Linked DNA regions of Homo sapiens: all the other regions are linked to region 2. The links are contacts of gene promoters, found by promoter capture Hi-C in blood cells and fetal thymus (Javierre and others, 2016). All regions are on one chromosome and are shown on one strand. Each heading gives the region's core, a stretch centred on a gene start or on the middle of the fragment in contact. The rest is flanking DNA. Distances are from core to core; before and after follow the strand shown.

Region 1 (2,700 bases), core at 57-2,556, 620 kb before region 2:
CTGATAAATGGTAGTGATTATCTTTTCATGTCTTGTGTCCCTTATACCTGCTAACGCAATCTAGCTAATACCTACAGCTTTGAAGGTTTATGAAGCTGAGACACTGCCCCACCCACAGAAATCCAGAAATATCAGTATCAAGATGCCAAGGAGAAGGGTCCCCTACCTCTGGAAAATCTCTTGCAGCGTATCCCGGGTGAAGGCATTGCTGTCCTGGAAGACGTTATTGAGGGCGTGGAGGGCACAAAGCTCCCTGCGCTGTTTCTCATGGTAGATTTGTGGGGGTGCTGCCTGGGGCAGCTCCAATGATTCAGATTTGGCCTTGTCTCCTTTCCATGGCACACAACTCATGTTTTTTGTTTTAGGTTCCAGAGATGGCTATAAACACCCCACTCTTCCCTCTAGAGGAAGAATGTAAGCTTCTCAGTCTTTTCCGGATTCCTGAGGTCCACCTTATTCTCTGGTGTCCATGATTTATGCTTTGTCACTGGGAGAAAAGATTGGAATCAAAAGGAAAAAAATAAAACCCACCTCTTCTCTCTTCTCAATAGAAAAATAACTTTTGGATTACTTTTATTTTGCTACCACTGTCAAAGTGCAGAATTTAAAAAAACACATAAAATGTAAGACCTTGTTTCCGTTTCCCCACCCTTCCCTCCCACCCCCCTCCAAAATCCCCACGATTTTCTTGCTGTTTCCCTCTGCAAATGCCAGGCCTCAAAGCAGGAGGACCGAACACAATCGGTCACATCGCTCCTTTTCTTCCATTTCTTTTGAACCACGACGCCAATGACTCGGGAGACAAGGCCTGGGTGACGGATAAATTTAGCGCACGAGTCGAGTAGCTAGCGCGGGCCGGCAGGCGTGGGACCGCGAGCCGCGCGGGGGCCTCGGGGGCAGCCCTCCATCCCCTCGGGTACGGTGGGGCCCGCAGGGCGCGGCTCCCTCGGAAGGCGCGGATTCTAGCCCTCTGGCCGCGGCCCTGCGGAGGAGGAGACAACTCCGGTCAGCGGCGAGCGGGCGCGGGAAGTGAGCGGCGGGGCCGGCCCCTGCCCGAGGGAAGGTTCCGCGCGGCGAAGGGCTGGCCCGCGAGGGGTGGGGCCGGACAGTCAGCCTCGCGCTCCCGGGCCCGCGCCCACCCGGCTCGCAGCCCCTACACAAACCTCCCCGCCCGTCACGTGAGCGCAGGCCCAGACGCCCTCCCGCCGCGCCCCCGGCCGCAGACCCCAGGGCCGCCGGGACTGCTCGCCGCTGGCGGTCCCCTCACCGCAGCCGGCCGCCACCTGGAGTGCGCGCCGCCAACTGGGCCGTGCGGGCGGGCGCGCGCACCTGAGCCCGACGTCAGCGGCCCCCGCCCGGCGCGTGCTCCGGAAACGCCCTCCCGCGCCGTCCTCACTCCTCCCAGCCGTGGCGTCACGCCTGACGTAAGTCTGACGTCATCGGCACCGGCCTGGGAGCCGCAGACGCCGGGCGTGTAGGGGCGCAGTTCAACGGTTGGGGTGTTGCAAAGGCCGTGGGTGTGGGGCTGCGGGCTGCGCACCTCGGCGGCGGCCGGCAGGGTTGGGGTCCAGCCGCTCCGCTCGGCGCGGCCCCTGGCGGGGCGGCCTGAGGGAGTCCTACCTGGACGCCAGCCTGCCCTTCTCCCGGGCGTGGGCGTTGTTTCGGGGCGGCAGCCAGGCCAGCGGCTGCAGTCCGCGGCTTTCAGCACCCCTCCCTTCTCTGTGCCGGGCTTTTCGGCCGAACGTTCTCGCTCCTTCTGCGTTGACTGTTTTATGTGTGGTTAACGCGCGGCTCACCAGGGGGGATTTTGAAGCACCTGATTCGGTCGGGCGCAAATTGCCTTGGTTAGTGGGCCCGACCGTGCCGCACTGTCCAGGGAGCGTCAAGGGTAGGTGTCTCGCTGGGAGTCACATTTCAAGTGGAAAGGAGAATCCTGTTGCAGTTCCTTGGTGTCGCATTTCGGTTCACTACACACAAGCCACTGCCTTCTTGCCTGGGGGCTCCCCGCTCTTCTCACGGTGGCTTTCCTCTCTGCAGAGACCTCTGCGCGAGGTATACCTAAGCGCATTGTGTGCGTCTTCGGGAAAAGGCGAAAACTACTCGCAGTCCCACGTGGATTTCATTTTTTCCCCTTTACCTACTCTTAGGGTGCGTGGTAGGCATCATTATCCACCTTAGCTGCCCTTCTTTTGGGTTTTCTGTAAAACTGGAAAAACGAGAAGAAACTGTTGCACTTCAAATTTAGTTGTTTTGTTTTGTTTTTTGGAGACGGAGTTTCGCTCTTGTTGCCCAGACTGGAGTGCAATGGCATGATCTCCGCTCACCGCAACGTCCGCCTCCCGGGTTCAAGCAATTCTCCTGCCTCAGCCTCCCGAGTAGCTGGGATTGCAGGCATGCGCCACCACGCCCGGCTAATTTTGTGTGTTTAGTAGAGGGGTTTCTTCATGTTGGTCAGGCTGGTCTCGAACTCCCGACCTCAGGTGATCCACCCGCCTTGGCCTCCCAAGGTGTTGGGATTACAGAAGTGAGCCACCGTGCCCGGCCTTTTTTTTTTTTTTTTTTTTTAAGATGGAGTTTAACTTTTGTCGCCCAGGCTGAATTGCAACGGGGCGATCTCGGCTTACTGCAACCTTCACCTCCTGGACTCAAGCGATTCTCATGTCTCAGCCTCCCGCGTAGCTGGGATTACAGGCTCCTGCC
Region 2 (2,700 bases), core at 4-2,503:
TCCCCCAACTTTTAGGATGTCTGTACATACTGGATCCCGGCCTGTCGACTTCCCGCACGATGTGAGTCATGCCAGCCTTGTATCCCAGGAAGGCTGTGAGGTGGACCGGCTTGGACGGGTCATCCTTAGGGAAGCTCTTCACCTTCCCACGATGCCTGCTGCTGCGCTTCCGAGGCAGGAAGCCGAGGGACCCATGTCTGGGAGCGGAGAACTTTCTGTGAGACTAGGTGGGAAAAAAATCACCGTCAGCACCCAAACCAAAGCAGTGCCCCCTTCTCTAGTTCCCAGCTGCTTAAGTTCCAAATCTCAGCAATACTGAAGAATCCTGACCAGACACCCAGCAAGCCGAATAAAAAGGTCATTATCTCTTCCAGGCTCGCACGTGTCAAGAATGCTTTTGTATTCGACAAAATTTAAGCTGAATCTTATTTCAAATCCTCTCAACCTGTAAGAAAACGACCCATTTTTTTTATCTAACCACACAAAAATACACTAAGTAGTGGCACTAAAAACTGCTTAACAGGCAGCTTTATATGCCAATTAGCAAGGTTTTGACCGCTAAAGAAAGGGACTCCCGGGACAAACGCTGGGTAGCAGCTAGCAATGTTAAGCTATAGGCTGCCTCCGGTGCCCGGACACTAATTACACTGATACACACAGGCCAAAGAACTCCGCAGAGCCAAATCAGAACGTGACAATCAGCACACAGTTTCTGTCCGCCCGTCAATAAGTTCATCATCTGTGGTTTCTGCGAGCTCCAGAGGCCTTCGGAGTGCACCAGCGGCCCCAGATATTCAGGAGGACTCCACAACACTCCCCTCCCCCAAGCTTCTTTACCTCCCAATGAGAACGGCGCCGAGAACCTCCACCCAAGGTCCTTCTACCCAGACAAGCAGGTTATGGGCCCTAATCCCAACTAATGATAGAATTGGTGAGGTCGAAACTTAGAAATGACTCATGGCTTTAAAAACGCCGGGCCTCCAAGCCTGCTCCCACCCTTACGGCCTCTCTCTGGCCGACCTGCAGGCCCAAAGCCAGTCCTCCAAGCGCTCTTCACAAGCCTCTCGACTTTCCAGAAAATAGGCCAGACTGAAGTCCCCGCTGGGTCGCCCGTGCCCCTAAAGCAAACCCCCGGCGCCGGCCAAGACGGGATGGCGGCGATGCGTCGCGGATTCAGCCGTGCCGACGCCGGTGACAATGAAACGGCCGCCATTACAACACATACCATCACGCCATCAAATCCCGCCGGTAGAGGCCGGTCGGCCTTACGGGTCCGCTATATAAAGCCAAATCTGGCCCCGCCCCTTCCGGCGTGCGAGCGCGCCCCCGCGGCAGACGACAGGTCGGGGGCACGTACCGAGCGCCATTTCCACGCACGCTCTTCCGCTCCTAGCTTTCGTTCAGAAGTTGACGTCAGCTTCGGAGACAGAAATTACACACTCTACGGCGAGGGGTCGGGTTCAAACTTAGTGAAAAGCCGCGGAGAGGTGGGCTAAGGGTGGGTGAGCCACAAATCTACGGCGTCCGGCAGCAGCCAAATTTGATAATAACGAAGAAAAATGGCTGCGTCGCTTCTCCTCCTGTGATATGCAGCTATCTCTGGAATTAGCGAAGAAAGACTGAAACTCTCGTTTCCTGGCTCCCACGCTGGTTTTGCGGCGACACCAATTTACCTTTAATACCTTTAATCTCGGGCATCCCTCCCTCAAGCCCTATCTCTGCCATTTCTCCCATGCTAATGCAGTGGCCCGCGCTTGATTCTGAGGGTCAGGAGCGTCCCAAGCCTGCGGAACGGCCTCACGACCTCTGGTCATGCCGAGTCCAGCTGCTCAGCCTCCCGGAGCCCCACGCCTTCCAGACCTATGCATCAGCGAGGGCTTTCGCTGATCTCTGCCTAGGCTCCAGGGTGACTCGGATCCTGACCGATTCCCTGCTTCCAGGCTGGTCCCTTACAAATCTCTTTTTTGAGACGGAGTCTCGCTCTGTCGCAGTGGCGCGATCTCAGCTCACTGCAAGCTCCGCCTACCGGTTCCCAGTTCAAGCAGTTCTCCTGCCTCAGCCTCCCGAGTAGCTGGGATTACAGGAATGCGCCACCATGCCTGGCTAATTTTTTTTTTTTTTTTTTTTGTATTTTTAGTGGAGACGGTGTTTCACCATGTTGGCCAGGCTGGTCTTGAACTCCTGATCTCGTGATCCGCCCGCCTCGGCCTCCCAAAGTGCTGGGATTACAGGTGTGAGCCACCGCGCCTGGCCCCCTACAAATCTTTCTAAGAATCAAGTATCTCGTTACTTTCCATGGCCGCCTCGTTGTTTCCTCGGAATTAAGCATCAACTTCAGCGGCCACCAAAGACGCTCCCCTAACCGTCTACTTCAGCCTCATGGCTGCGCCAGAGCACACGCTCTCATATCACCTGCTTCCTCTGTCCCACCCTGTCATCTTCTTTAATTCTGGGCCTGGCCTTTGCTCCCACCGTCGTTTGAAAAGCATTCTCTCGGCCAGGCGCGGTGGCTCACGCCTGTAATCCCAACACTTTGGGAGACCGAGGCGGGCGGATCACCTGAGGTCAGGAGTTCGAAACCAGCCTGGGCAACATGGCGAAACCCCGTCTCTATTAAAAATACAAAAATTAGCGGGGCACGATGGTGTGCGTCTGTAATCCCAGCTACTTGGGAGGCTGAGGCGGGAGAATCGTTTGAAC
Region 3 (2,700 bases), core at 62-2,561, 720 kb after region 2:
ACAGCCCCAACAGGCAAGTGTTATTTTCCTCAATTCTACCAATTAAAAACTGACCTTGGGCAACTGCTTAACCTATCTCTGCCTTACTTTCTTCATCTGTATCTACCTCAGAAAGTTACTATGAGGACTGAATAAGCTCATACATATACAATGCTTGGAGCAGAGGCTGGTACTAGAGCTGGCTTCATGGGCATGAAACCTGTGAACACAGAACCCCATGCTTTCATTTTCCACTTAGTCCTGCCTGGCATAGTATGCAGTTTTTTTAATTTGAGATGGAGTCTCCCTTTGTTGCCCAGGCTTGAGTGCAGTGGCGCGATCTCAGCTCACTGCAACCTCCACCTCCCAGGTTGAAGCAGTTCTCCTGCCTCAGCCTCCTGAGTAGCTGGGATTACAGGTGCGCGCCACCATACCCAGCTAATTTTTGTATTTTTAGTAGAGATGAGGTTTTGCCATTTTGGCCAGCCTGGTCTTGAACCTCTGACTTCCATGATCCACCTGCCTCTGCCTCCCAAAGTGCTGGGAGGATTACAGGCATGAACCACTACGCCTGGCCTGGTATGTGGGTTAAAATGTTAGGTTTTATCATTATCTTAGGTGGAGAATAACAAATCCGATTCAATATATTCATTTTAGAAACGAGGAAACTGAAGCTTAGATAGTTTGTGTGACTTGCAAAAAGTCACGCAGCAAACAAGCTGCAGAATGAAGGGTGGAGATGGAGAGATAGAATTCTCATCTTAGAGGTGAAAGTAGGATAATGACCCAGCTGAGCTTGCTGAGTCCTGCGAGCGTCGCACGCCCCCAGAGACAACATAAGGAGAGAAGTGCAGACAGATTCCTTTGAAGGAGCTTAGAGAAAGAGATGGTAGGGAAAAGAGCATGAACAGTTGTAGAGGTAGGAGGAAAGCTGGCTATTTGGGGAAGCAAAGAAAAGATTCTCAGAGTAAAACGTATTGGTGAAGCCATGGAAACAAGGACTGAGAAAGTCTCTTGGATCTTGGCCACAAAAAGGTTATAGATGAGCTTAGAGAAATGAATTTCAGTAGAGTTAGGGCTAGAAGCCAGGTTCAGAGAGAGAAAACGAGAGAGCATTCCTGGTGGTGGAGATGGCCGCAGGCCATTATTTAAAAAGCTAGGATAAGAAAATAGAGAAGAAAGGGAAGGAAGCTATTTGAAGGGAGTGGGAGAAAAGCCAGATCTCAGTTGGGACGTGGAGGAAGGACCACCAGAGGCAGTAATTTAGCCGGAAAGAGGTGTATTTCTTTCCTTGAGTTTATAGGGGGTAAAGAGGATGGGGCTGAGATACTAAAGACTACGAGGACAACTGTTCATTGAGGGCTGGTCATCTCCCCAGCTGCACTGTGGGGTTCCCAAGTCAGACATCCCAGAGGCAATATAGCAGCGTGGACAAGAGCTTACTCGTTGGAGTCAGACCGCCTAGGTTCAACGATGGGTTAGTTAGCCCTTCAGTGCCTCCATTTTCCTATCTAGAAAATGTGGATAACAATGGTTGTTGTGAAGATTAACAGCCATAATCCACGTAAAGCCCTCAGTACAGTGTATGACACACAGCAAGTGTCCACCAAAGGGTAGTTATTATTAACCATAATCCTGGTTCTCTTGTGAGCTGCCTCCTGTGTGTCTAGCATTGGCCAGCACACATGAGGGGGTCCAGTGTTTGCTGCTTAACTAAGTAGCTTCTCAGGAAGTGTGGTCATAAAAAATGATAGGTGATTTAGAAGGTGAGACAGACACAAGGGATGTGTTGCACAGTAAATGCTCCCAGACATGCAATAAATGCTTATAAGCATGCCCTCTGTAATCAGCCCTCTTTAGAGAGTTTCCCTGCCTCATTGCTCTTGGTCTTTGGCAATGGCTACACCCACTGCCCAAGCAAGCAGTATCAGCTGTCAGCTGTCCCCTTGTCTTTTGGATCAGATTCCTTTACAGGGATCTTCCCATTGTTATAAGCTTCAAGAATTGGAGAATGCTTAATGAACACTTCCAAATTCTTCATAGCTATGAGGGGCCAGTGCAAAGGGCGGAAGGAGTTCTTCTGTGTCACAGAAATTAGAGCTGGAGCAGATCCAGCTTGCTATCCCCCCTTCCCCCAGCTTGTGGGTTATTGCAGAATTGTTCACAAAAATTCCCATTGCCTTGGAATTTGTCCAAGCCGAGGGCAGGGATCACAACACAACCTCTCAAGGGAAAAAAGGAAGGCCTGTTGCTTGAGATGGCTCAGAGCACTTTTGGTAGCCAGCCAAGGCAGCTATCACTCATGAAATCTGCCTTCCCCTCCAGCAAAAAGCCAACTGTATAGAACACCACATATAGAGCGCTAAGAATAGCACAGCGCTCCAAGAACATAGTGCACTTGGCCTGCATACAAGTGTGCAGGGCTTAACGAGTCTTTTTACTCTGAAAGCTGGGTGGGTTGGAACAAACAAACAGAAAAATATTTTCCCCAAGTAGCATGCAGAGAGGAAATGAGAGCAAGCACAAGAGAGCACCCTGGCATAGCATTCTCTGACCTGGGCTGCCTTTTCAGGGTATGAGTTGATTCCGCAGGCACCAAGGCATGCCTGTAAGCCCTACAGGGCAGACGCCCTCACCCCAATCATTGGCTTAACATTCACACCAGGCTGAGTAAGCCCCAAAAGTCCTGCCATTGGCTCTGACAGGAATTGAAACCCATCT

The links. The method cuts DNA at HindIII sites, captures the fragments that hold promoters and counts their contacts. A CHiCAGO score of 5 or more calls a contact.
Region 1: a contact is called between the fragment with the promoter of JOSD1 here and the fragment with the promoter of RPL3 in region 2, in 11 of 17 cell types (naive CD8 T cells, fetal thymus, neutrophils and 8 more). The highest score is 9.4, in naive CD8 T cells.
Region 3: a contact is called between a fragment that was not itself captured here and the fragment with the promoter of RPL3 in region 2, in 5 of 17 cell types (naive B cells, total B cells, M2 macrophages and 2 more). The highest score is 8.5, in naive B cells.

What each region holds. Positions count from the first base shown.
Region 1 is chr22:38,699,637-38,702,336 of GRCh38, forward strand. JOSD1 (Josephin domain containing 1) reads right to left here and starts at 1,307. Exons shown (of 5, transcript NM_001360236.2): 1 at 1,164-1,307; 2 at 167-982. The coding sequence starts at 351. RefSeq lists a silencer at 814-1,773. The HindIII fragment of the contact is 4,284 bases long and covers 418-2,700 here.
Region 2 is chr22:39,318,370-39,321,069 of GRCh38, forward strand. RPL3 (ribosomal protein L3) reads right to left here and starts at 1,254. Exons shown (of 10, transcript NM_000967.4): 1 at 1,226-1,254; 2 at 31-223. The coding sequence starts at 1,228. SNORD43 (small nucleolar RNA, C/D box 43) reads right to left here and starts at 744; the gene lies at 683-744. RefSeq lists enhancers at 243-1,132, 999-1,048, 1,133-2,022, 1,439-1,858, 2,023-2,700. The HindIII fragment of the contact is 13,460 bases long and covers 827-2,700 here.
Region 3 is chr22:40,038,853-40,041,552 of GRCh38, forward strand. It overlaps FAM83F (family with sequence similarity 83 member F), which reads left to right. Exons shown (of 5, transcript NM_138435.4): 5 at 1-2,700. Among named protein-coding and RNA genes, the nearest start is that of TNRC6B-DT, 4.3 kb to the right of the region's middle. The HindIII fragment of the contact is 1,321 bases long and covers 652-1,972 here.